Linked DNA regions of Homo sapiens: regions 2, 3, 4, 5, 6 and 7 are each linked to region 1. The links are contacts of gene promoters, found by promoter capture Hi-C in blood cells and fetal thymus (Javierre and others, 2016). All regions are on one chromosome and are shown on one strand. The core of a region is centred on a gene start or on the middle of the fragment in contact, and the rest is flanking DNA. Distances in the headings are between cores, read along the strand shown.

Region 1 (2,928 bases), core at 1-2,500:
AGTCAACTTTATAGACTTTTATAGAATGAGATGCTGTGTCCAGCACAAGAAGAGAATTCTCCTTGGTGAAGGTAAGAGCCACAGGATGCGAAAGACCATGAGTGACCATGGGCTTCGGTACTGGAAACTCCTCAGGTTTTCCTAAGCAAAGGATAGCTGGACCAGATGTATCTGCAACAATCACATTTCCCTGGTGATCAAAGGTCACAGCGGAGGCAGTTATTTTGGAGGGAAAGTAGAGGCTCAGCCCAAAGGTATCCACTTGGCCGACAAGCTGCATACTTGAGCTAAACACTTTCACCCTGGTGCTGCAAACCCCAGTCCCCAGGGCCAGGGGGTGCTCCAGGACCGCAATGGCCCCGGTGAGCCAAGACACTGCCACCCCTCGGGGATTGCACAGATGAGCTTGCAACCTTTCAGTTCTCCGAAGGACCCCTTCCGCGAAGTCGACGTCCAGGAGGTGCAGGGACCCTGCCTCCGCATCAGTTACCACAATCCCATTCTGAGGGGTGGTCTCCACACCCCAAGGTAAGGAGAATTGGCCTCCAATGACAAGCTTGATCTGGCCAAAAAAATCAAACACTTTGATGGAGCGATCGCCGGCGTCAGTGACAACCACATGGCAGTCGTTGGTGATGGTGACATCCACAGGGTACCTAATGTCTTGGGCAGCGTCCCCCTTCTCTCCAAACTGATGCGCGCATCCTCCCCCTGAGTCAAAAATCTTGACACGCCTCCTGCCGTCGTGCACCACCACGACACGCCCCGTCTTGGGACAAAGCGCCAGTCCGGTGGGGTTGACCAGGGTCCCCCAGCCGCCGAAGGTGTGGTGGCAGGTGAGGGCTCCGGGGGCGCTGGGGGCGGCGCGATGGGCGGCCGGGGACTGGCGAAGCGCTGAGCCCAGGAGCTCTATGAGGTGCAGCACCGGCAGGCAGTCGCTGGTGTCGCAGCCCCGGCAAGCTCGCCTGCAGAATGGGCACTCGAGGGCCAGAGTGCGCGGGTGCGCCAGGGCGGCCACGCAGGCCAGGCAGACCACGTGGCCGCAGGACAGGTTGCGCGGGCGCCGCTGCTGCCGGTGGCCAAACTTCTCAAAGCACACCTTGCACTCGAGCAGGCTGATCTCCGCCTCGCGCATGAGCTCATGCAGCGCTGGCCCGCTCTCCGAGGCTTCGGCCGCCATGGCGCGTCCTGTGCACTCCCGCCGCGCCGCCTGGCCGTGCCCCAGCGACGCTCTCGGTCACGGTCACAGTCATGGTCACGGGGTGGGACGTGCGCCCTGACGTCGAGCGCCGCGGGCCTCTGCACTGCGATCTGCTGCCCCTTGGTGGGCACGCGCGGCACTGTTTCCTGAGGGCCTGATGGTGGACGTTTGCAAGACAAATCCACATGCGCGTTGTGTAGACCTGTAATCGTCACAGCAGTCATGGATGGATTGTGTACACTTTCAGATGAGGAAACACACCTATTGAGGACAACAGGATTGCTCCCTGTCACCCAGCCTGTAAGCGGCAAAACAAGAACTAGAACCCAATCTTCCAGCCCGGGTGCCTAGCAGTGTCTCCAATCCGCAGCGCCGGGTGCTACGGCTGTCCGGGCATAAAACATGGTCCCTTAGCTCATGATGCTTATGATCTGAACCGGAAAACACGAACACACTAGAGAAGATAAACTCCAAGGGAGGTGAGGCAGATGTGTACATTTCTTTTGTGTCTTCTGTCATACTCATAGTTAAGTCAATGTTAGATGAATACATACTTGTAAAATGAATTTGTGCATGAATGAATGTTATAGAACAACAACAACAACAAAAAAAAATCAACGAGGTGAATGAGTGTCAGATGGGGCAACCATGCTGGAAGTGTCTTGCAGAGTAATTAATATGAAATAAGAAAGCTGTTAGTTAATAATAATTACCATAGAACTTCATTTTTTTGTTTTTTAAGACAAAGTCTCACTCTGTCACCCAGGCTGGAGTGCAGGGGCACGATCACAGCTCACTGCAGCCTCCATCTCCCAGGCTCAAGCAATCCTCCCACTTCAGTAGCTGGGACTACAGGCATGCACCATCACACTAGGCTAATTTTTTAATTTTTTTGTAGAGAGGAGGTCTCACTATGTTGCCTAGGCTGGTCTTGAACTTGTGAAAATTGTTCACATTCCTCCCCACCCCTTGGCCTCCCAAAGTGCTGGTGTGAGCCACTGTGCCCAGCCTATGGAATTCACATATGCCTGCCCCATTGTGTTAGGTTGGTGAAAAGGATTCGCAGTGTTTGCCATCACTTTTAATGGCAAAACCGTGATTACTTTTGCAGCAAATTAATAAATAATTTACATAGATTATCTTGTTTAAACCTCATAGCAATCCTACAAAAATATGTTATTTTTATTGTCTTTTTTTCTGATAGAATTCATAGAAATCAAATATCTTGCCCAGGGTCACATGGCTAGGAAGTGGCTGGCCTGGAATTTGAAGCCAGGCAGTTTGACTTCAGAGTTACCTATTTTAGTCATTTTCAAACTTCTTTGCACATGGTAAACACCTGGGTCGCACCCGAAAAGTTTAATTGGCCCATGGTGTGGTCTGGACAGCTGGGATTTATAAAAGCTCCCCAGGTGATTATAATGTACAGCCAAGTTTGAGAAACACTGCATTATAATAATTCCCTCAAATGACACTAAGTTCAGTTTTTCCAATCTCAGTTAAGACCAAAAACAAAGAGAATTTGCCATATGTTGGAAAATCTTCAAACAAGGGATAGCATAATCTGTGTGAAGAATCCATTGTGGTATTATAATCTCTCATTTTTCTTTTTCTTTCTTTTTTTTTTTTTTCTTTTTGAGACAGAGTCTTGCTCTGTCACCAGGCTGGAGTGCAGTGGCGCGATCTCGGCTCACTGCAGCCTCCACCTCCTGGGTTCAGGCGGTTCT
Region 2 (2,980 bases), core at 12-2,511, 430 kb before region 1:
ACTCGGGAGGCTGAGGCAGGAGAATGGCGTGAACCCGGGTGGCGTAGCTTGCAGTGAGCCGAATGTGCAGTAAAATAATTGCTTGAGAAAGCTTGCAGTGAGCCAAGATCTCCTGGGCGACAGAGCGAGACTCCGTCTCAAAAAAAAAAGTATGGGCTTTGGGATTGCCAGGACCTAGGGTAAAATTGGAGGACCTCCCTGTACTTTGATTTACTCTAGGTAAAATAACACTGCCTCCTATTATTTATAGTAATTATAATGAAAATCAAATGAAATAATGTGAAGGCATGTATCAATTTACAAGGTATAACAGAAACATACTGAAAACTTTTTTACTAACAAGGAAAAAAGCTGGCAATAAACTGGGGTAAGGTAACCGATTTTAGGCAACAATTTATTTCACGAAGCAGATTTAGTAGGATTTCAAAGAAAGAGTCAAAGAAAGGAAAAAAATGACTCAGTAGGTACAGAAAACAATAAAATCAAGGCAGAATATATAAATCTACCTAGAAGGGAAACTCAAGACAGAGGCCTTAAAATATCCTGCCAACAAAAAAAATGGAAGACATTTCTGATACAGGCACTTGAATAGTAATTTCCTTACTATGTGAAAAGGTAGCCGGGCGTGGTGGCTCACGCCTGTAATCCCAGCACTTTGGGAGGCCGAGGTGGGTGGATCATGAGATCAGGAGTTCAAGACCAGCCTGACCAATATGATGAAACCCCGCCTCTCCTAAAAATACAAAAAAAAATTAGCCGGGTGTGGTGGTGTGCATCTGTAATCCCAGCTACTCAGGAGGCTGAGGCAGGAAAATTGCTTGGAACTGGCAGATGGAGGTTGCAGTGAGCTAAGATCACGCCATTGCACTCCAGCCTGGGCAACAGAGCAAAAGCGAGACTCCGTCTCAAGAAAAAAAAAGGAAAGGTATAGGTAGCAACTGGGAAGCATGTAATTATTCTTCCATGTATTGTGCAAATTTTCAATAGATCTACAAGTAAGCTCTCTATCAAACACATGAAGCCAAGTTCTAGAACACTAACTACTGAACAACACCAATTCACTGTTCCCTTTTTCTTTGCTAATATTACACAGTATTAGTTACTATGGAAAGAAAGCCTATATACCTATATCCAATATTTAATATTTGTAAAAACACACCTAATACTAGTTACTTATCCCATTTCCATACTTCAAGACTTGAAAGTGTTTAAAAGCTATAATACAGTTTAAGACAGACTTAAGGCTGGGCGTGGTGGCTCATGCCTGTAATCTCAGCACTTTGGGAGGCCGAGTCTGGTGGATCACTTGAGGCCAGGAGCTGGAGACCAGCCTGGCCAACATGGCAAAACCCCGTATCTACTAAAAATACAAAAATTAGCCAGGCATGATGGTGCATGCCTGTAATCCCAGTTACTAGAGAGGCTGAGGCAGGAGAATCGCTTGAACGTGGGAGGCAGACGGGCCATTGCACTCCAGCCTGGGTGACACAGCGAGACTCCAGCTCAGAAAAACAAAAAAAGACTTAAAAACAAAGACATACTTGATATAGGTGACAGGCTAGCTAAAGCACTATAGCAAGAATTTTTTTTTTTCCAGAGACCTGTGTCATACCAGGTAGAGTGCAATGGCACGTGATCATGGCCCACTGCAGCCTCAAACTCCTGGGCTCTCATCTCAGCCTTCCAAGTAGCCAGGACTACAGGCCGACTACCACATCCAGCTATAGCAATTCTAGAATTTAATGTAGATTTAAAAATTTTTTGGGGGACTTCAAGTAAGGTGTTTAGCTACTAAACGTATCAGAGATTCCTGTGATCCCTATCCATCTGGAAGGCAAGTATAGAACAACTTTAAATTGGCTCCACCCTCACTCATAGATCCCTCATGTGGCAACATTAGGTATCTTCAAAAACAACTGGAAAACATAACTGGTCAAAGTGGATATAATAAAGCTCACTCACTAAAATACATGAACTTAGATTACAGACCGATTTTCTATACTAAAATTTAACCAACTTAACTAGTCTCAGCCCAGAAGAGCTTAATAGAGGAACAGTGAGACAGAGACATTACTAGTGGCACAGTGAATGACAGCATGAGGAGTAAAAAGGAATGCAGGCTATATTAGCTAGAACTGTGGCACAGGCCTGTAGTCTTAGCTACTTGGGAGGCTGAGACAGGAGAATCACTTGAGCCTAGGAATTCAAGGTTGCAGTCAGCTATGATTGTACCACTGCGCTCCTGCCTGGGTGACAGAGACCCTGTTTCTAAAAACAAAAAGACAAAAAGAAAGGAGGGAGGATGGGAAGAAGGAAGGAAAATAATAAAATGGACCTGGAACCAGTATGAAGGAACAAACATCCTTGTGTTTCAATACCCTAATATACCTTTGTAGGTTAAATGACCCTAAGTCATTAAGAAAAAGTTAAATTAAGCTTAATATAATTGAGTGGTCCTCAAAGTGTGATCCCTTTTTAGCAGTATTATCAGCATCATCCCAGGTCCTTCTCCAGCCCTTAGTAGGATAATCTCCAGAGGTAGGTCCCACCTGTTTTATCAAGCCCTCTGAAGTGATTCTAATATTGGAAATCAGATACATTTCAGGAAATTAAGATACATTTTAGAGAAGCCCCTCCAAAACAGATGAATAAAATTGTGCATTCTTGAAAGGCTTAATCTTCAGTTATCTAGAAAAAATATACATGTGGAGCACTAGTCAGACAATATTTAAGATTATAATGAAAATATTCTAAAGTGAATCAGGTAAACAAATCTTACAGACCATTTTAGACTGTGCTAAATACATACAGTTCATAAAATTATTTTCCTAGTGTTTCCCAAACTTTAGCCATGATTTTCACCTATACTGTTTTTCTCTGAATCCACTCACTTGGATTTAAAGTTTTTCTTTACTCACTTTTCTTAAAATTTAGCTTTTTCCTACACACACACACACACACACACACACACACACACTTA
Region 3 (3,009 bases), core at 362-2,861, 500 kb before region 1:
GGAAGTTTCTCAAAAAATCTAAAAATAGAATCACCTTATGATCCAGCAATCCCACTACTGGCTATTTATCCAAAGGAGAGGAAATCAGTATATCAAAGAGACACCTGTACCTGATGTTTAGTGCAGCACTATTCACAACAGCCAAGATACGGAATCAATCTAAGTGTCCATCAACAGATGGATACAGAAAATGTGGTTTAATATACAATAAAATACTATTTGGTCATTAAAAGAAAATAACATCTTGTCATTTACTACAACATCTATGGCACTGAAGGACATTATGTTAGGTGAAATAAGCCAGGCACAAAGACACATATTCAATGTTCTCACTCATGTGTAGGAGCTAAAAAACAAGTTGATCTCATAAAGGTAGAGAACAAATGATGGTTCAGAGGCTTCGTTGGGGTGGTGGTAGGAAGGGAAGGTGGTTAACGAATACAAACATATAGCTAGATAGAAGGAATAAATTCTAGTATTTGAGAGCACAGTAGAGTTAACAATAATTTATTGTACATTTCAAAATAGCTAGAAGTTCTGAAATGTTCCCAACACAAAGAAATGATGAATGTTCAAGGTGATGGATATCCTAAATGCCCTAATTTATTACACATTGTATGTATGTAACAAAATAACACATCAGTTTTTAAAAATGAAAAACTTTAAAATATTTTTTTAAAGTTTTTCATTTTTATCAAAAATGCTTTTGGATTATTACTAAAACTATATTTCTATGTATGACAAAAATTAATGCTTTGTGTTTTCTGTGGGAATGACCTTCACTAGACTTTGTAGCATGGCTTTTCTTTTGTTTTGTTTTGTGTTTTTTTGGACAGTTATGCTGCTACCCAGAGTCAAGAGTTTTCTAACATCTTGGCTGGGCACAGTAGCTCACGCCTGTAATCCTAGCACTTTAGGAGGCTGAGGTGGGTGGACTGCTTGAGCTCGGGAGTTAGAGACCAGCCTGGATAACATGGCAAAACCCTGTCTCTACAAACCACGCCCCCCTCCAAAAATGAAACAGATGGGTGTAGTGGTGGTGTCTGCCTGTAGTCCCAGTTTCTTGGCAGGCTCAGGCAGGAGGATGGCTTGAGCCCAGCAGGTTGAGGCAGTAGTGAGCCGAGATTCCACCACTGTACTCCAGTTTGTGCGGCAAGGTGAGACCCTGTCTCAAAAAATTTAAAAAAGGATTTTCTAACATCTTTACTATCCAGGTCTACCTTGTTATAGAACTGAGAACCTCAACCCTAAAATGCTGTCTTTCCCCAAGTTTCAACAACAGTGTGACTCTAATTTTTAGGGCCTCTGTAGCCTTTTCTCAATTCTTTAACTGGAAGAAAGATCTCCTAAAATTGACTTTTTCTTTGTATTTAGTTTATAAAATTGATTGCTCTTTACATAAAAAAAAAATAAAGAGAGGAAGTCAATAATGTCAGAGAAACAAATTTTGTATAGGATAGAAAGTTATAGTATACCATATGGCTCAGCAATAATCAGCATTTCCATAATCAGAATCCTGATCTAACCTTACAGTGTCTCTATATTAAGCAGATAAAGGCTGGGCGTGGTGGCTCACACCTGTAATCCCAGCACTGTGGGAGGCCGAGGTGGGTGGATCATGAGGTCAGGAGATCAAGACCACCCTGGCTAACACGGTGAAACCCCATCTCTACTAAAAATATAAAAAATCAGCCAGGTGTGGTGGCACGTGCCTGTAGTCCCAGCTACTTGGGAGGCTGAGGCAGAAGAATCACTTGAACCCGGGAAGCGGAGGTTGCAGTGAGCGGAGATCAAGCCACTGCACTCCAGCATGGGCGACACAGTGAGATTCTGTCTCAAAAAAAAAAAAAAAAGACGATGACAACAGAGGAAAATGTTACCTGTGTGAAAGAAATAGAAACTTTCCAATTTCATATTAGAGGAAAAAATCCTGATCAAAATGGTTAATGTATATCAGAAAACAGGAGAAATTTTGGTATGTACATTAGCTGACAAAGTACCAATATCCAGAATACATAAAGAACCTCTACAAACTTACACGCAAAAGCCAAACTGAAAAATGGCCAAAAAAAAAAAAAAAAAAACCTTTTAAAACAATTTACACACATGAGAAATCAAATAGAACCCACATATAAGAACTCATACAATGGTGGTAGGATATGAATTGGCAGAATCCATCAGGAAAAGTTTTTATTATCTTCTAGTATAAGATATACAAACCTTTTAATTCAGCAATCCCATGCCACTGTATATACTCTAGAAAAACATACATATGTGCACCAAGGTACATATACAAGAATGTACAGAGTAGCATTTCCTAGTAGTTAAAAACAACTGAAACATATGTCAACAGTAAATAAACTGCAGTATATTCATACAATGATTTACTCTATGGCAATGACAATAAACAAACTATATGCAAAACATGGATGACCCTTACAAGCCTTAGAGCAAAACAATCACAAATCAAAAGACTGCATGCAGTAATATTCCATTTATATAAAAGCAGGCAAAACTACATTTTCTAGGGATGCATCTATTAGCCAATAAATGCAGTAATAAAACCCAAAGAACAGTGATTACCATAAAAGACAAGGCGGTGGTCATCATTAGAGTGGAGAAAGAGAGGAGTGTTTTCAAAAAGAGATACATGAGGGGCTTCCAGGTGGTTGTTATACAGCATTTGCTTCAATATTACACTGTTCACTTATATTTTACACCCCTTTCTACATAATATTATATTTCACAATTAGAAAAAAATCAACAACAATTTTAAGAAAATATAGGATTATAATACAATTTGATTAGTCATATTTAAATATGCAGTTCAAATGGAAAGGCTGGTATCATCAGTAAATAGAAAGTGTCATGAGACAACTCAGCGGGACTGCCCCAGGAGAGAGCACTGGACCTGGGGGTAACTTCCTAACGCAAATCCAATCATAAACAGGATCAGAAAATGCACTTCAAAGCTAGCCTTGCAAGCCCAAAAATTCAAAGTTGAGAAGA
Region 4 (2,700 bases), core at 48-2,547, 470 kb before region 1:
ATTTGTCATAATCAACTGAGGGAGGAGGAACAAACAAAAGATGCATCTGGCTATTTTTGTAGGGAAGCTTCTCTTCTCTGTCCAACCTCCAGCGTAGAACCCTAAAAACATCAACTATATAATCTACTCTCTCATGCCAACTCCTTAAGGCACACACTTGTCCACACTGGTTCCTTATATTACTGACCTTGAACCAATTTTTTTTTTTTTTGAGACGGAGTTTCGATCTTGTTGCCCGGGCCGGACTGCAGTGGTGCGATCTTGGCTCACTGCAACCTCTGCCTTCTGGTTTCAACCGATTCTCCTGCCTCAGCCTCCCAAGTATCTGGGACTACAGGCACCTGCCACTACGCCCAGCTAATTTTTGTATTTTTAGTACAGACAGGGTTTCACCATGTTGGCCAGGCTGGTCTCGAATTCCTGACCTCGTGATCCGCCCACCTCGGCCTCCGAAAGTGCTGCGATTACAGGCATGAACCACCGCGCCCAGCTGACCTTGAACCAATTCTATCATTTGATTTCTACTCCCCCAAATTTTGACTTAGTAGATCATAAGTGGGTCCCACTAATCTAAGAGGAAAAAAAAGCCAAGAATTCTGCTAACTTGATGCTTAGAGACATCTCAAGTAGAACACACATTTCACAATTCACTATCTAATACCTTTGTAATATCCTTACATGGGTTATCTCATATGAGGTAGATACTATTGTTACATATGAAGAAAGTAAGGCAGGGAGATATATGGCATAATACCATACAGCTATTAAGTGGCAGAAATCTTACAGACATGAACACAATATTTATTCTTATTTCCATTTTACAGATAAAAAAACTGAGGAGGTACACAAGAGGTTAATTTGACCAAGGTCACCCAGCTAGTAAGTGGCAGGATTATACAAGACAAGAGCAAGCAATTAAGTCTCTCCAAACTCAAGTCTTCTTATATACTGCTACATGTTTTGTATACTGCTACATGTTTTGTATCAATGAGCTTTTTAACAACACACACAAAAAAACTCATGGATTGATTGGTAGGACAGTAAAAGCAAAAGGCCAATATATTTAATGACTACAATCCTTGCACATTTTAGAATCCAGGATAAGGTGAAAGGTAAAAGATCATTCCAAATGGGTAATTTTACATATAGAGTTCTATTAACCTGAATTTAATGGATCAGAATACATCCATTCCTGCTAAATAGCAACACTATCTGAAATCAGTTAGCATAATGTGTTTACATTTCATTAAAACTAAATCTCTTCCATGTCACTCTTCCAAAGGCCCATGAAAATGCCGCCCCCACAAAAATAACTTTAATCTTATTATTACTTTTTTTTTTTTTAAGACAAAGTCTCAATCTGTCACCCAGGCAGGAGTGCAGTGGTACGATCTCAGCTCACTGCAACCTCCCCCTCCCAGGTTCAAGCGATTCTTCTGCCTCAGCTTCCCGAGTAGCTGGGATTACATGTGCCCGCCATCACACCCGGCTAATTTTTGTGTTTTTAGTAGAGACGGGGTTTCACCATGTTGGCCAGGCTGGTCTCGAGCTCCTGACCTCAGGTGATCTGCCGGCCTCAGCCTTCCCAAAGTACTGGGATTACAGGTGTGAGCCACCGTGACCAGCCAATCTTTTAATTTTTTACCAAAAATTCCCACTAATTATAACTGAAGAAAGAAACAATTTGTGGTCTCAACATATCTGACTTCTGATGCAAACAAGCAGCACTGCATTCAAAACAACTATATAATTGTGTATCCAAACCTATTCTATACAGATATAAAACACAAGGTAGGGCTGGGCGCAGTGGTTCAACCCTGCAATCCCAGCCCTTTGGGAGGCCAAGGTGGGTGGATCTCTTGAGGTCAGGAGTTTGAGACCAGCCTGGCCAACATGGTGAAACCCCATCTCTACTAACAATACAAAATTTAGCTGGGCATGGTGGCGTACGCTTGTAATCCCAGCTACTCAGGAGGCTGAGGCAGGAGAATTGCTTGAACTCAGGAGGTGGAGGTTGCAGTGAGCCAAGATTGCGCCACTGCACTCCACCCTGGGAGACAGAGCAAGACTCTGACAAATAAATAAACAAACAAACCACAAGGTGGGCAGAAAGTGTGGGGCCAACATCACATTAGTACCTCTTTCCTCAGAAATGTGGACATTATAACTTCAGGGTGGAACAGAGCCAGTGATGGGAAGGACTGGGTGAAGAATCCTGTGACACAAAATTGGCAGTTGGCCAGAATGAAGAGAAGAGGCCCAAAGAGGGGAGGAGGTGATACAAACATGAGTGAAGAGGAGTTTTTTTTATTTGTTATTTTTTTAAAGACAGAGTCTCCCCAGCTGGGGTGATCCTCCCACTTCAGCCTCCCTGGTAGCTGGGACCACAGGCGCTAACCACCATGCCTGGTTAATTTTTGTTATTTTTTTGTACACGTGGGGTTTTGCCATGTTGCTCAGGCTAATCTCAAACTCCTGGGCTCAAGCAAACCTCCAAACTTAGGGGGCACCAGGTTTTTGAAGAAAGGAAAGCTTTACTTAGATAACCAACAAGGAAGACAGGAGTCCAGCTCAAATCTGTCTCCCCGCAAATTGGCCTTAAGGTAGTATGTTTATTAGGAAAGGTTTAGGGGGTAGATTCTGGGGAAGGAAAGAGGAAGTCTGAAAAGTCCTTCGACGTGCACAGTTGTCTCTTCATGC
Region 5 (2,957 bases), core at 389-2,888, 450 kb before region 1:
CTTAAGCTTTAGAAAAAGCTCTCTACATACTTACACCATTCTGTTAACCCCTTCGGTAATAACAGAATACTGTCCTCCACCAACACTCAGAAATAAGTCTCATAATTACTGTTAATTATATATGGGAGAATAAACAGGAAAGCAAGTACAACATCTAAAAACAAGACAAAAATCTTCAAATATAGGCATTTCATAGTCACTGCTGCCAATATATGTATATAAATACAACAGACTTTTGTATATTGACCTTGTATCCTGTGACCCTGTTAAACTCGCTTATTAGTTGTGGTGGCTTTTTTTGTATTTTCTTTGGATTTTTCTACGTAGATAAGCATGTTATCTGTGTACAGTAAAAATATTACAGGAATAATACCCTTTCCAATCTGCATGCATTGATTTCTGTGCCTACTGCACTGGCTAGCACCTGCAGTATGATGTTAAACAGTAGCAGTGATAGCAGACATCCTTGCTTGCTTCCTCATACCATTAAGTATGTTGCCAGATGATTTTTTTGTAAATGCACTTTATCAGGTAGAAGGATCTCAACTATACCTAGGTTTGTTCAAAAATTTTTATCATGACTAAATGTTGGATTTTTAAAAAATATTTTATGTATCTATAGAGATGTTCATATAGTACTCTTTAGATTGTTTACATGGTAAATCCCATTAATTTTTTATTTTTTATTTTTTTTTAGACAGAGTCTCAGTCTGTTGCCCAGGCTGGAGTGCGGTGGCACAATCTCGGCTCACTGCAACCTCCGCCTCCCAGGTTCAAATGATTCTCCTGCCTCAGCCTCCCGAGTAGCTGGGATTACAGGCACGTCCAACTGCAACCGGCTAATTTTTGTATTTTTAGTAGAGATAGGGTTTCACCATGTTGGCCAGGCTGGTCTCGAACTCCTGACCTCAGGTGATCTAAGGCCTTCCAAAGTGCTGGGATTACAGGCATGAGCCACCACACCTGGTCTAATCCCATTAATTTTCATATGTTGAGTCAACCTTGCCTTCCCAGGATAAACCCCACTTGATCATGATGCAGTTTCCTTTTTAAATTTGTTGGATTCCATTTACAAATATTTTTGTTGAGGTTTGTGTCTATAATTCATGAGAAATAATAGTCTGTTGCTGTCTTCTAATGTCTTTGTCTGATTTTGGTCTCGGGGTAATAATGTTGGCCTCATAAAAGGTACTGGGAAGTGTTCCCTACTCTCCTACTATACATAAGAGTTTGTGTAGAATTGGTATTATTTCTTTCTTAAATGTTTGGTAGGATTCACCAGGGAAGCTATCTGAGCCTGAAGCTTCTTTGCTGGAACGTATTTTAAATTATGAACTCAATTCACTGAAAAGATAAAAGTTATTCAGGCTACATATTCTTGACTAATACCAAATAACAAAAGTCTAACAAATAAGTCTAACAAAATATGTTCGAGATCTGTATGCTGAACACTACAAAACACTGATGAAAAAAATTTATAAACCACCTAAATGGGAAGATATACCATGTTCATGGTTTGGAAGACTCAATTTTGTTAAGATGCCTATTCTCCCCAAATTGGTCTTTAGACTCAAATGCAATCTCAATCATGGCTGGGCATGCTGGCTCATACCTATAATACCAGCACTTTTGGGAGGCCAAGGTGGGCGGATCACCTGAGGTCAGGAGTTCGAGACCAGCCTGGCCAACATGGTAAAACCCTGTCTCTACTAAAAATACAAAAATTAGTGGGGCATGGTGGTGTGTGCCTGTAGTCCCAGCTACTTGGGAGGCTGAGGCAGGAAAATTGTGTGAACCTGGGAGGTGGAGGTTGCAGTGAACCAAGATCATGCCACAGCACTTCAGCTTGGGCAACAGAGCAAGATCCCATCTAAAAAATAAAAAAAGCAATTCCAATCAAAATCCTAGCAGACTGTAGAAACAAGCCAATTTTAGATTTTTATAGAAAAGCAAAGGACCTAAAAAAGCCAAAACAAGCTTGAAAAAGAACAAAATTGGACTACTCACATCACCTAATTTTAAGACCTACCGGGAAGCCTATGGCAATCAAGACAGTGCAGTTGGCAAAAGGAAAGACACACAGATCAATGGGTGGGTCGGGGGAGGGATGGTCAAAAGTCCAGAAATAAAGCCATGTGAACTGGATTTCAACAAAGGTGCAGGCCAGGCCTGGTGGTTCATGCTTGTAATCCGAACACTTTGGGAAGCCAACACAGGAGGATCGCTTGAGCCCAGGAGTACAACACCAGCCTAGGCAACTTAGTGAGACCCTGTCACTACCAAAAAAAAAATTTAGCTGGGAATGGTGGCACACGCCTGTGGTCCCAGCTACTCAGGAGGCTAAAGTGGGAGGATCACTTGAGCCCAGGAGGTTCTGGTTGCAGTGAGCCATGATCGTGCCACTGCACTCCAACCTGTGTGACAGAGCAAGGCCCTGTCTCAAACAAAAACACAGAACAAAGACGGTGCAAAAGCTATTCAATGAACAAAGAACAGTCTTTTTAACAAATAACACTAGAACAATTGCACACCCATATGTTAAAAAAACAAAAAACAAAAAACAAAAAACCTTGGCCAGGCACACCTGTAATCTCAGAACTTTGGGAGGCTGAGGCAGGAGGATTGCTTGAGCCCAGCAGTTCAGGATCAGCCTGAGCAACGTAGTAAGACTCCTACCTTTCATTTTTTAAAAAAACTTTTTAATTTAGAAAATAAAATGAACCTTGACCAATACCTCATACCACACACAAAAATCTACTCAAAATGAATCATAGGCATAAATTAAAACCTAAAACTATAAAACTTGTAGAAGAAAACATAAGACAAAATCTTTGTGACATGGGATTATAATAGTAAAAATATCTCAGATACGACACCAAAAGCATGAAACCATTAAGAATACACACACACGCACACACACACACAAAAGATGTCATCAAAAGTAAAACTTCTGGCTG
Region 6 (2,797 bases), core at 266-2,765, 370 kb before region 1:
AGGTGATTCGCCCGCCTTGGTCTCCCAAAGTGCTGGGATTACAGGCATGAGCCACCGCACCCGGCCTTTACTACATTTTAGAATAAGCTTATTTTCTCAAGTTTGTGTGTGTTTTAAAGAATGATCTCACCTGGCTGGGCGCAGTGGCTCACGCCTGTAATCCCAGCGCTTTGGGAGGCCGAGGCGGGTGGATCACTTGAGCCCAGGAGTTGAAGACTAACCTGGCCCAAATGGTGAAACCCTGTGTCTACTAAAAATACAAAAAATTAGCCTGGCATGGTGACACACGTCTGTAATCCCAGCTACTTGGGAGGCTGCGGCATGAGAATCGCTTGAACACAAGAGGTGGAGGTTGTAGTGAGCCAAGATCGTGCCACTGCACTCCAGCCTGGGCAACAGAGTGAAGCTGTGTCTCAAAAAAAAAGAATGATCTTTCCTGTCTATATACTGAATCTGTGTCAGGGATGCCCCAATCTTTAGTCAAGAGCTACATTTTATCACCTTAAAGGCTGGAGATCACCAGATAAGGGGGAAACAAACAGCAAAGTATCAGAGCTGCCCAGAAAGGAGGAATGCCACTCCTGCAGTTTTTCCTTTTCTGCTGAAAATTCAAAACTAAGTCAAGTATAACTGTGGCAGCCACTGTACAGTTCTATGCAGTTCTTCTGAACAAGATTTTGAGACTGACTTTTTTTTTTTTTTTTGAGACAGAGTCTCGCTCTGTCACCCAGGCTGGAGTGCAGTGGCGTGATCCTGGCTCACTGCAATCTCCGCCTCCTGGGTTCAAGCGATTCTTCTGCTTCTGCCTCCCGAGAAGCTGGGACTACAGGCGCCCATCACCACGCCTGGCTAATTTTTGTATTTTTGTATTTTTTTTTTTTTGAGACGGAGTCTCGCTCTGTCGCCCAGGCTGGAGGGCAGTGGCGCAATCTCAGCTCACTACAAGCTCTGCCTCCCGGGTTCACGCCATTCTCCTGCTTCAGCCTCCCAAGTACCTGGGACTACAGGTGCCCACAACCACGCCCAGCTAATTTTTTGTATTTTTACTGGAGACGGGATTTCACCGTGTTAGCCAGGATGGTCTCGATCTCCTGACCTCGTGATCCCCCGCCTCGGCCTTCCAAAGTGCTGGGATTACAGGCGTGAGCCACCGCGCCCGGCTTATTTATTTATTTATTTATTTTGAGGCAGAGTCTCACTCTGTTGCCAGGCTGGAGTGCAGTGACGCAATGTCAGCTCACTGCAACCTTCAACTCCCGGGTTCAAGTGCTTCTCCTGCCTTAGCCTCCCGAGTAGCTGGGACTACAGGCTTGTGCCACCAAGCCCAGCTAATTTTTTTGTATTTTTAGTAGAGATGGGGTTTCACCACGTTGGCCAGGATGGTCTCAATCTCCTAACTTCATGATCCGCCCGCCTTGGCCTCCCAAAGTGCTGGGATTACAGGTGTGAGCTACACGCCCCGCCTAAGTTTTCTATCTTTAGTAGAGATGGGGTTTCAAAATGTTAGCCAGGCTTGTCTTGAACTCCTGACCTCAATGATCCACCCACCTCGGCCTCCCAAAGTGCTGGGATTACAGGCATGAGCCACCGCGCCCGGCTGAGACTGACAGATTCTTATGCAGACAGTTTTCCTGGATTTGAAGCCTAGCTCCTTCCCTTTCTGGTCTTTGTGATCTTTTTTTTTTTTTTTTTTTTTTTTTTTGACAGTCTCACTCTGTTGCCCAGGCTGGAGTGCAGTGGCACGATCTAGGCTTACTGCAACCTCCACCTCCTGGGTTTAAGCGATTCTCCTGCCTCAGCCTCCTGAGTAGCTGGGATTACAGGCGTGTGCCACCACACCCAGCTAATTTTTGTATTTTTCGTAGAGATGGGGTTTCACCATGTTGGCCAGGCTGGTTATGAACTCCTGATCTCGGCTTCCCAAAGTGCTGGGATTACAGGTGTGAGCCACCGTGCCTGGCCCTTTGTGATCTTCTGTTGTTGTTGTTTTTTGAGATGGAGTCTTGCTCTGTCACCCAGGCTGGAGTGCAGTGGCACGATCTCGGCTCACTGCAAGCTCTGCCTTCCGGGTTCATGCCATTCTCTCGCCTCAGCCTCCCAAGTAGCTGGGACTACAGGCGCCCACCACCATGCCTGGCTAATTTTTTGTATTTTTTAGTAGAGATGGGGTTTCACCGTGTTAGCCAGGATGGTCTCGATCTCCTGACCTCGTGCTCCCAAAGTGCTGGGATTACAGGCGTGAACCACGGTGCCCGGCCTTGTTGTTGTTTTTTTGTAAGCTCATATTAAGTGATACTCTGTAATCCTGACAGATCCTTAACCCCTTTGAGACACAATTTCCGCATCTGTAAAATGGGGTTAATGACAGTGTCTACCTCACAGGGCTGTTGGAATGATTATGTGAGCAATGCATATTAAATCCCTTACATTTAATAAATAGCAATGCAGTGGAAATATTTTTTATATATTTTTTTGAGACAGAATCTTACTCTGCTGCCCAGGCTGGAGTGCAGTGGTACCATCTTGGCTCACAGCAACCTCTGCCTCCCGGGTTCAAGTGATTTTCTCACCTCAGCCTCCCGAGTAGCTGGGATTACAGGCGTGGGCCACCCCACCTGGCTAATTTTTGTGTTTTTAGTAGAGATAGGGTTTCATTATGTTGGCCAGGCTGGTCTCAAACTCCTGACCTCAAGTGATCCACCCACCTCCGCCTCCAAAGTGCTGGGATTACAGGCGTAAGTCACTGTGCCTGGCTTGAGACTCCATCTCTTAGAAAAAAAAAAAAAAAATCAGGGCT
Region 7 (2,851 bases), core at 236-2,735, 410 kb before region 1:
GGAATAAAGAGACAGGAGGAAATCTGCATTCAACCTGGACCTAGTTTTTTCAGCCAAATAAATGGCATATTGGGAGACACTGCAATTCATGAAAAGCTTGTTGCTACAATAGTCCTCCTCTGCCAAGAAACTTCTTTATTTTGTTCCCCATATAATATAGTAGAAAGTGGCCGAGCACAGTGGCTCACACCTGTAATCCCAGCACTCTGGGAGGCCAAGGCGGGTGGATCACTGGAGGTCAGGAGTTCGAGACCAGCCTGGCCAACATGGTGAAACCTGTCTCCACTTAAAAAAAAAAAAAAAAAAATTAGCTGGGCGTGGTGGTGCTCACCTGTAGTCCCAGCCACTCGGGAAGCTGAGGCAGGAGAATCGCTTGAACCATGGAGGTGGAGGTTGCAGTGAACTGAGATCATGCCACTGCACTCCAGCCTGGGCCACAGAGTGAGACTCCATATCAAAAAAATTAAAAAATTAAAACAACAAATATATATATATATGTATATATATATATGTAACCAGCTGCCAATTATAAATTAGCAAATAGGCTGCTGACCCATCTCTAATAGATAAGGAGTATCCACTAATTAAAAGTGAAATACAATTTAGTCTAAACCCAACCTAGATTGAAAAAGAGCCATCATACATTCTTCAGAAGGTACTAATACAATTCTGGCCAAAAGAATGTTTAAAGATGACAAGTACAAGAAGTTACGAAATTTTATGTAGTTATTCCACCTTACCAAAACAAAATGAGGTATCTGCTGTGATGTCTATTAAAACAAATTATCACACTCATGCACAGCATAACAATGTTTCAATCAACAATGGGCCCAATATACAATGGTGGTCCCATAAAGAGCTGAAAAATTCGTATTGCCTGGTGATACTGTCTTTGTCCTAAGGTCTTATTGCAACACATTACTCACGTGTTTGTGGTGATGCTGGTATAAACAAACCTACTGTGTTGCCATTTGTGTAAAAGTGGAGTATGTACAATTATGTACAGTACAGAATACTTCATAATGATAAGTGGCTGTTTCTGGTTTATGTATTTACTATACCTTTTTTTTTTTTTTAACAGGCACTCCTTGCCATTTCCTGTTGCTACCATACTTTATTATTTTAAAGTGTATTCCTGGTCAGGCATGTGGCTCACACCCATAATCTCAGCACTTTGGGAAGCCAAGGCAGGAGGATCACTTGAGGCCAGGAGATTGAAACCAGCCTGGGCAACATAACGAGACCCCTTCTCTACAAAGAAATGAAAAAATTAGTTGAGCTTAGTGGTGTGCACCTGTAGTCCCAGCTACTAGGGAGGCTGAGGCAGGAGGATCACTTGAGCCCAGGAGTCTAAGGCTGCAGCGAGCTATGATCTCACCACTGCAGTCCAGCCTAGGTAACAGAGTGAGACCCCATCTCTAAAGAAAAAAATAAAGAAAATGAAGCTATTGGGTTTATTTATTATTTATTTATTTATTTATTGCCTGTTTGCTTGTATTTTAGGGAAAGAAGGGCCACACAACGGAAAGATATTTAAGGATGTAAATCATTGTATTCTCATTAACTTACTGTGTTCTCTCTCTATTGGGAATAAAGTAATATTTAAGACTAAATTAACTAATATGAGCAAATTTTGATTAACTACATATATCACTTGATTCCAACATGCCATATATTTCCTCTTCCTGACTACATGTATCAATGTATACTAGACTTTGGTATATATGTGTTTATGTACATTACATTATAGTTTAAGGCATATTTTAAATTCAATCTTGAATGGAAACTCAGTTTTATTGGATGAAATAATAACCAAATTTAGGAAGGCAATCCCATCCTAACATTTAAGACAGTTAATGAATTAACTGAGATTAATTCATTAAAACACAAATATTTATTGAGATATTTATGTGTTGGTTTCTAGTCTTGGCATTTAGTATGTCAGTATACAAAACTGTAAAACAATCTCTGTCTACATATTATGCTACACTTTACCATTTTATTGAGTTATACTAAAGTTTACTATTTTATAATCTATTAATCATTAGCACTTAACACTGATAATTCACCTTAAAAATGCTACACTCAAGCCAGGCACAGTGGCTCACACCAGTAATCCAGCAGTTTGGGAGGCCAAGATGTGCGGATCACCCGAGGTCAGGAGTTTGAGACCAGCCTGGCCAACGTGGCAAAACCCCGTCTCTACTAAAAAAATTAAAAAATTAGCCGAGTGTGGTGGCACATGCCTGTAATCCCAGCTACTTGGGAGGCTGAGACAGAAGAATCGCTTGAACTTGGGAGGCAGAGGTTGCAGTGAGCCGAGATCATGCTACGGTACTGCAGCCTGGGCAACTGAGCCAGACTCTGTCTCAAAAAAAAAAAAAAAAACCTACACGTAAATTCTAAACACATGCTGTTGAATCTATCTCATACAAGAAATCAGGGGCGGGCACGGTGGCTCATGCCTGTAATCTCAGCACTTTGGGAGGCCAAGGCAGGCGGATCACGAGGTCAGGAGATCAAGACCATCCTGGCTAACATGGTGAAACCACCGTCTCTACTAAAAATACAAAAAAAAAAAATTAGCCGGGCGCGGTGGTGGGCGCCTGTAATCCCAGCTACTCGGGAGGCTGAGGCAGGAGAATGGCATGAACCTGGGAGGCGGAGCTTTCAGTGAGCGGAGATCATGCCACTGCACTCCAGCCTGGGCGACAGAGCGAGACTCCATCTCAAAAAAAAAGAAAAAAGAAAAAAAAGAAATCAATTGGTTTAGTTTTATTTATTAACATAATTCATCAGTTACATTACGAAACTGGACTTATTAAGGTTGCAGTCTGTAAAACTATAACCT

The links. Contacts are between HindIII fragments. The CHiCAGO score rates a contact against its expected background, and 5 or more counts as called.
Region 2: a contact is called between a fragment that was not itself captured here and the fragment with the promoter of NHLRC1 in region 1, in 1 of 17 cell types (neutrophils). The highest score is 9.6, in neutrophils.
Region 3: a contact is called between a fragment that was not itself captured here and the fragment with the promoter of NHLRC1 in region 1, in 1 of 17 cell types (neutrophils). The highest score is 6.9, in neutrophils.
Region 4: a fragment that was not itself captured here is called in contact with the fragment with the promoter of NHLRC1 in region 1 in 4 of 17 cell types (monocytes, neutrophils, megakaryocytes and 1 more); the score reaches 7.9 in monocytes.
Region 5: a fragment that was not itself captured here is called in contact with the fragment with the promoter of NHLRC1 in region 1 in 5 of 17 cell types (naive B cells, neutrophils, monocytes and 2 more); the score reaches 7.2 in naive B cells.
Region 6: a contact is called between a fragment that was not itself captured here and the fragment with the promoter of NHLRC1 in region 1, in 1 of 17 cell types (neutrophils). The highest score is 5.4, in neutrophils.
Region 7: a contact is called between a fragment that was not itself captured here and the fragment with the promoter of NHLRC1 in region 1, in 1 of 17 cell types (neutrophils). The highest score is 5.9, in neutrophils.

Annotation. Positions count from the first base shown.
Region 1 is chr6:18,121,427-18,124,354 of GRCh38, forward strand. NHLRC1 (NHL repeat containing E3 ubiquitin protein ligase 1) reads right to left here and starts at 1,251. Exons shown (of 1, transcript NM_198586.3): 1 at 1-1,251. The coding sequence starts at 1,180. The HindIII fragment of the contact is 6,107 bases long and covers 555-2,928 here.
Region 2 is chr6:17,690,241-17,693,220 of GRCh38, forward strand. All of the region lies in intron 1 of NUP153 (nucleoporin 153), which reads right to left. Among named protein-coding and RNA genes, the nearest start is that of NUP153, 15 kb to the right of the region's middle. The HindIII fragment of the contact is 2,345 bases long and covers 90-2,434 here.
Region 3 is chr6:17,621,293-17,624,301 of GRCh38, forward strand. All of the region lies in intron 20 of NUP153 (nucleoporin 153), which reads right to left. Among named protein-coding and RNA genes, the nearest start is that of FAM8A1, 22 kb to the left of the region's middle. The HindIII fragment of the contact is 4,037 bases long and covers 1-3,009 here.
Region 4 is chr6:17,654,128-17,656,827 of GRCh38, forward strand. All of the region lies in intron 11 of NUP153 (nucleoporin 153), which reads right to left. Among named protein-coding and RNA genes, the nearest start is that of NUP153, 51 kb to the right of the region's middle. The HindIII fragment of the contact is 2,465 bases long and covers 66-2,530 here.
Region 5 is chr6:17,670,135-17,673,091 of GRCh38, forward strand. The region is part of intron 5 of NUP153 (nucleoporin 153); the gene reads right to left. Among named protein-coding and RNA genes, the nearest start is that of NUP153, 35 kb to the right of the region's middle. The HindIII fragment of the contact is 674 bases long and covers 1,302-1,975 here.
Region 6 is chr6:17,749,097-17,751,893 of GRCh38, forward strand. No RefSeq gene overlaps it. Among named protein-coding and RNA genes, the nearest start is that of NUP153-AS1, 43 kb to the left of the region's middle. The HindIII fragment of the contact is 2,861 bases long and covers 86-2,797 here.
Region 7 is chr6:17,709,708-17,712,558 of GRCh38, forward strand. It overlaps NUP153-AS1 (NUP153 antisense RNA 1), which reads left to right. Exons shown (of 3, transcript NR_134618.1): 3 at 1,082-1,320. Among named protein-coding and RNA genes, the nearest start is that of NUP153-AS1, 4.1 kb to the left of the region's middle. The HindIII fragment of the contact is 2,783 bases long and covers 95-2,851 here.